Linked DNA regions of Homo sapiens: region 2 is linked to region 1. Evidence: promoter capture Hi-C in human tissues and cell types (Jung and others, 2019). All regions are on one chromosome and are shown on one strand. Each heading gives the region's core, a stretch centred on a gene start or on the middle of the fragment in contact. The rest is flanking DNA. Distances are from core to core; before and after follow the strand shown.

What was found. The method cuts DNA at HindIII sites, captures the fragments that hold promoters and counts their contacts. A contact is called where the count stands out against the background at its distance.
Region 2: a fragment that was not itself captured here is called in contact with the fragment with the promoter of ETS2 in region 1 in 3 of the 25 tissues and cell types used here (dorsolateral prefrontal cortex, heart right ventricle and mesenchymal stem cells).

What each region holds. Positions count from the first base shown.
Region 1 is chr21:38,804,497-38,807,432 of GRCh38, reverse strand. ETS2 (ETS proto-oncogene 2, transcription factor) reads right to left here and starts at 1,504. Exons shown (of 10, transcript NM_005239.6): 1 at 1,313-1,504. RefSeq lists silencers at 782-881, 902-1,001, 1,112-1,401, 1,592-1,661, 1,682-2,011 and enhancers at 2,122-2,281, 2,292-2,351, 2,532-2,671, 2,205-2,705. The HindIII fragment of the contact is 2,481 bases long and covers 111-2,591 here.
Region 2 is chr21:38,944,875-38,947,810 of GRCh38, reverse strand. No RefSeq gene overlaps it. Among named protein-coding and RNA genes, the nearest start is that of ETS2-AS1, 7.9 kb to the right of the region's middle. RefSeq lists a silencer at 1,146-1,274 and an enhancer at 2,650-2,936. The HindIII fragment of the contact is 7,094 bases long and covers 1-2,936 here.

The sequences.
Region 1 (2,936 bases), core at 255-2,754:
AAAAAAAAAAAAAAAGGATAAAGAGCAGAAATGTAACAGCTGAGAATGGTTACATTTAAAAACAAGGAGAATTTGCCTGACAACAGTACCCTTATTGGAACAAGTAATCACTTATGTAAGATTATTTAGATAAATTTGAAAACAAACAAAAAAAAGAAACAACACAACCTTGTAACACACATTTGAAGGTAGTTTGCTTTTTTCGCTTTGAAAGCGATCAGTTTAGAGAGATGAATGACTAATCCCAGAAATGAGTATCTGAGCATTTCCCTGCGGATGGTCGGTGCTAACATTTACTGTGCTGCGCTACTACTCAGAATTTTAATAAAGCTTAACGTGGAGATTTATCTCTCTGATTGGTGGTGGTGTGGGCAGGCAGATAACGCACAGGCGCTTCCATTGTATGGAACAAATATAATCTCTTACTGGCGAATTAAAATAAATTACTCCTGTCTCCAAAGGGGACTGCTCATTTCTTTACTTTCTAAATAACTAGCGCGTCAACTACTGTTTTAGGCTACCCTGAAATTGTGTACAGGCTAACATAAAAGGTCTCCTGCCGTAAAAAATAAAATAGGATAACACACACGCAACCCAAACACACACAAGCAAACACTCAGTTACCTCTTCATTCAAATGCTGTAGGAACGAGAAAATAAAGGCAGCCCAGCGCAACCAGATCTCATTTCCGACAGGTTCCCCACGCTCTCCTCGCACGACCGAGGGGTCCCCAGCCCGGGCCCTGGACGCGGCGAGCAGGTGACCATGGCACCCCGCGCCCCGCAGGTTCCCGCGGTGCCGCAGCCTTCAGGTGTCTTGGGCGCCCCAGATCCTCCGGGCCCGGCGCCGCTCCAGGAAGTCACCCTCAAAGCCGGGGCGCCAGGCCACCTCGGACACGCTCTCCTGTGCCCCCACTCCCGTTCGCGAAATCATGTTCGCCGGGACATCCACTGGGCAGGACCCCCTACCAGGCCTGCGTTTCCTTTTAAAAACAAAAGCGAGCGAAACAAGCCAGCGCGCCCTGGCCGCGCCCGCCGCTAGGCGACCCCGAAGACAGCGGCCCTAGCACGCAGGAACCCCCCGGCCGACCCCGCCAGCCCCGGAGGCCACTCCATAACCGGAAAACGAGCCGGCGCGGAACTCAGACGCGCGCCCCTAGAGTCCTCGCAGCAGCCGCCACCCCCACCTGCACCCCCGGCAGCGCCCCGAGATCTGCGTGTCAGTGCCCCCCGCGACCCCCGCCCAGGCCCCGGGTGACCCTCCATGGGACTGGAGCCGCGCGCCGGGCGCTCTCTGCGGGCCCAGCTCTTACCCTGCCGCTGCGGGCAGGGCCGGCGCTTGGTCGGGACGGTGGCTGCTCGGCGCCCGCGGCTGCTCGGTGCGCGCCGGGCGAGGGCGAGGGCGCCGGCCAGAGACGATCAGGGAGGCCGGACGCTGGCCGGGCGGCTCCGGGAGCTCTGAGCTGGAGCGACACCGCACTCGTCAGTCTCTGGAGGAAGTAACCGGGCCGTCCCCCACGCGGCGCGCTCTTCAGGAGCGGGAGGAGGAGGGAGGAGGGAGGAGGAAGGAGGGACGGCCGAGTGGAGGGGAGGGGAGGAAACGAGGGAGGAGAGAAGAGAGAGGGGAGGGAAGGGGAGGAGAGAGAAGAGGAGGGGAAGGGAGGTAGGCAGGATGGGGAGAAGCGGGAGGAGAGGGAAGGGGGCAGCAGGAGGGTTGGGGGAGCGGAGGGAGAGGAGAGGGAACGCACGAGGGGAGAGAAGAGGAGGGCGGAGGCGGCGAGGGAGCGCGGGGCGGGGCTGACACCTTCCGGCCCAACCTTCCCTCCGCCTCCTGCTGTCACTCGGCTGGGTCCCTCGCCGGCTGGCCCTGAGGCCCCGGGAGCAGGGCCTCGGCCCCACGTGCGCGCGAGTGTGCGCCCTGGGAGCCGGGCGGAGACTTTCCGTGGAGCGCTCGGCGTCCTCTCTGGGGCCAAGGCCCTAACGCCAAACCTGCCTTTGGAATTCCGCAGCGACGGAGCAGTGGTGCTGGTGGCACCGAAGGGCAGCCGGGCTTGGGTAATAAGGCCCTGAAATTGAGCCGACCCCATTCTTGAACCTCTGAATGGGCTTAGGACTAATGATCATTCTATCACAAAAAGGCTCCAAATGAGGCGCTTCCTGTAGAAACCGGGCCCTGGCTGTGTCCCCGAGTCGTGGTGCTGATCGCGCTGCTCCCGGGAAGCCCCGATCCCGCAGGCTCCGCGGGAGTGGCGCCCTCTGGAGCTGAGCGGTGCCCAGATAGCGACCCGCCTTGGCCGCGCTTCAATCTGGGCTGGGCACTCCACGCACATCATCGTCACTCTCGGAGGACTTGCGGCTCCCACTTTACACAGGTGGGAACTGAACCTTAGGATGAATAACCTGCCACGTCAGATTGATGAGAAATTCAAGGTGGAAACCTGAGTTTATCTGACTCCGAAACCCTGGTCAAAACCACCCCCTACACTGTGGTTTCCGTTTTTATCAGAAGGTGCTTGAGTCCATGGCTGTTTGGACTCAGGTCACATGCTCAATATTTTGCAGGAAAGTTTAGATTCCTGAAGTTGTGGATGAAATAGGAAACCCCAGCTTAGGCGAGGCCACGGGGCTGAAAGCTGCTCACATCTCAAGAACTGCGGCACCACCGGGAAGGGAGAGGAATGGCCCAGCTTCTCTGTGACTCAGGGTTCTAGGTTTCCATGGTGACTCTAGGTCTAGAGTTATCCGGATAATTGAGATATCGGTGCACCTTAATGTTTCTGGGTCCCCGAAGGTCTCCGGGTATCACCGTGGCATGAGTCACAGTCAGAATCTATACGGCTGAAACAATCACGTATAGGGGAAGTGATTATTTCTTGGAGACTGAATTGATTCTGATGGCTTCTCAGTGTATATTCAGGCCCAGATTAGAGAACACAG
Region 2 (2,936 bases), core at 136-2,635, 140 kb before region 1:
GGGCTTGCAGAGGGAGCTTGTTGAGGGGAGGGACTGGAGATGAAGCCCCACAAGGCTTGCATTGTGGAAAATGGAGAAGACAGACTCTTTTGCTCGAGCCTGGCTATAGGCACCCAATGCGTCCATGTAGAGGGGACATGGCTGCCCATCTGCCTGTCTTGGCCTCTCCAGAGGTGTGGGGAGATGCACTGGCTACCAGAAAGGAGAGATGGAGGGAGGTGACACCAGCACCAACCTCCGTTGGCCAGGCTCTCCTGCTGCTCTCCCCTTCCTACTGAGTTGCCAGCACTTATGAAACCATCATTACAGGCATTTTTGTTTTCTGGAAACAGAACTACCACTTCCTTACACCCTAATATGAGAGGCAGAATTTGCTATATTTCCCCCAGATCTTCTTCCATAGCGTGGAATTTTTGGCTGGGCACATGACTGCCTAGAAGAAATCACTATGTTTCCCTGCTTCCCGTGAAACTACGTGAAGACATGTGGCTGGTTCTGGCCAATGAGGTGACAACAACAAACCCCACTGTAGATGCAGACGCAGATGTGGTGGCTGGGTGCCATCTTGGACCATGAGACAAGGACCTCACCTTAGAGGGGGCCAAGTGGAAGAATGAAGAGGCCAGGTCCTGCAGGCTCGGTGAAAAAGAGCTGGATCATTTCTGCCACACTTTGCAGGGAAAATGAAGCCAAACCCAGTCCCGTGTTGTTTAAGCCACTGTGATTTGGTATCTATGATACTTGCAGTCAACCCGATCCTAACTGGTAAAATAGGTAAATTCATTCTTGGACTTTCAGACTTTTACCTTTTAAAAGTTTTGGGGGCTAAAGTAGAGGGCTGCCTGAATAGTGACTGGAGACTGGTGGCCCTTCTGGCAAGCTGCCTCCGAGAGCATGTCCCATGGCGCAGACACCCAGGAAGGAGAGGGATCATTTCTTGTATATGCGCTTCCACATATTCCCCAAGATATATGGGCTTCCACATATGTCCCTGGGGCTCCTGCCCTACAGGAGTGCTTGGTACACCCTGCTAGACCCTTGCCTGATCCCAGAGCCCCTTCCTTCTCATTTCCTTCTGAGGTCATTCTTCCCTACCCCTGGGGACAGGGCTGTCCTGATACCTTGTGGTCCCAGCACATCCTCCCCACAGAGAAGAAGAAATGGTCTCAGAGGGTGAGGACTGTTCTGCAGACATAGTCGGCAGATGGAAGAGCTGGGACTTAAACCCAAGTTCCAGGGTGCGTGCTCTCTTCTCCCTCCTTCTCCATCTCTCCCTCTCTCTCTCTCTTTATGTACCACAGTTCTCTTGTCCATAAACATTTGAGTAATATGGAAATATAGAAAGTTTAGGCCAACATAGGATGGTCAAACTTTAAGATGGTTTAATTATTTTTAATGGAGAATAGAGGTTTTTGTAATGACAATATCATCAAATGCTGTGATTAAGTGCTGAATCATAGTTGTTTAAAATACATTTCTTTATCGAGCCAATTAGCAATGCTAAAATTACCCCAGTGCTCTTACTTGAATGACCAAGAGGTTCAAAACACAAAGTTCCGGAGCAGGAGAATTAGACTGACTTACACAATAAATTATTCTTTAAGAGGAAAATCCATTTTCAAAAAATGTATACCCAAGAAGTGAGAAATGAAAATCAGGCTGAATGATGAAATGTTTTTTCACATTGTCGGAAAAATACAAGTCTCAGGAGTTGGCTTCAACAGCGCAGCCAGCGTTTCCGCAGGGCTGAGGACTGGGCTCGTGGACGGGGCTGCCCGCAGGCCTCAGTGGTGACAGTTCCAGAGCTGCGCGCACTCTGCCTGGCTGAGTGGATGCATTACCTTGCTCTCTAGAAATAATGGGAATTACCCACTTAATCCTTGGCACAAAGTGCTGATAATATGCCAATTAACGAGTAATTAGGAAGATTTTTCCCGAACATTAGGTTCTGGGAGAAAGTCTCATTTGAGAAAGAGGTTTGTATGTCTTCTCTCCTCTTCCTGTGGTTTTCAGCTCAGCGGGCGTCCAGCGAATCTGGGTTTGTTTACAATGACTCCAGGGCTGTTCCATTCACTGATTTGGTTCAAGCAGCGTGTGTAAATCATGCTATGCTGACCCTGGTCATCCCAGAGCCCGCGTGAATAAAAAAGGGGCCTTGCTCTCCCACTGTGAGACAGACTTGCATGGGATTCCTTCAGTGCAGAATTCTGGAATGTTGATGAACACCAGGTAAGCCAGGGAAGGAAAGGGAGGGAACTGCAGGAAGGGAGAGAAATGGCCCTGCCTCGGTTTCTTTCTTTCTTTTTTTCTTTTGAGACAGAGTCTCACTCTGTCGCCCAGACTGGAGTGCAGTGGTGCGATTTTGGTTCACTGCAACCTCCGCCTCCCACGTTCAAGTGATTCTCCTGCCTCAGCCTCCCAGGTAGCTGGGATTACAGGCGTGTGCCACCACCCCGGCTAATTTTTGTATTTTTAGTAGAGATGGGGTTTCACCATGTTGGCCAGGCTGGTCTTGAATTTCTAACCTCAGGTGATCCGCCCACCTCGGCTTCCCGAAGTGCTGGGATTACAGGCATGAGCCACTGAACCTGGCCCCCTACCTCGGTTTCTTTGCTCCACTTCCTGCAGCAGGGACAATGAGATCCCACCATGTTCCACAGGAGATTCCTCGCTGGGAGGGCAGAGCTGGGCGGAGGAGGATGGAGGAGCCCGGAGGCCCCTGCCCAGCAGCGAGGCCCCCCTGTGGAACCTAGAGGGGAAGCAGAAGAGGAAAAGTTGAAAGTGGTTCCAAGTTTCCGACTCTGGGAAAGAAAGCGATAGAGATGGGTAACCGCTGAGTGGCCAGTTCTGGGTGGGCCGGCACTGACTGTGGCCTACAGCACGCTCTGGTCCAGGTCCGCTCCTTCAAACCCATCCACGGAGCACCGTGATGTGCA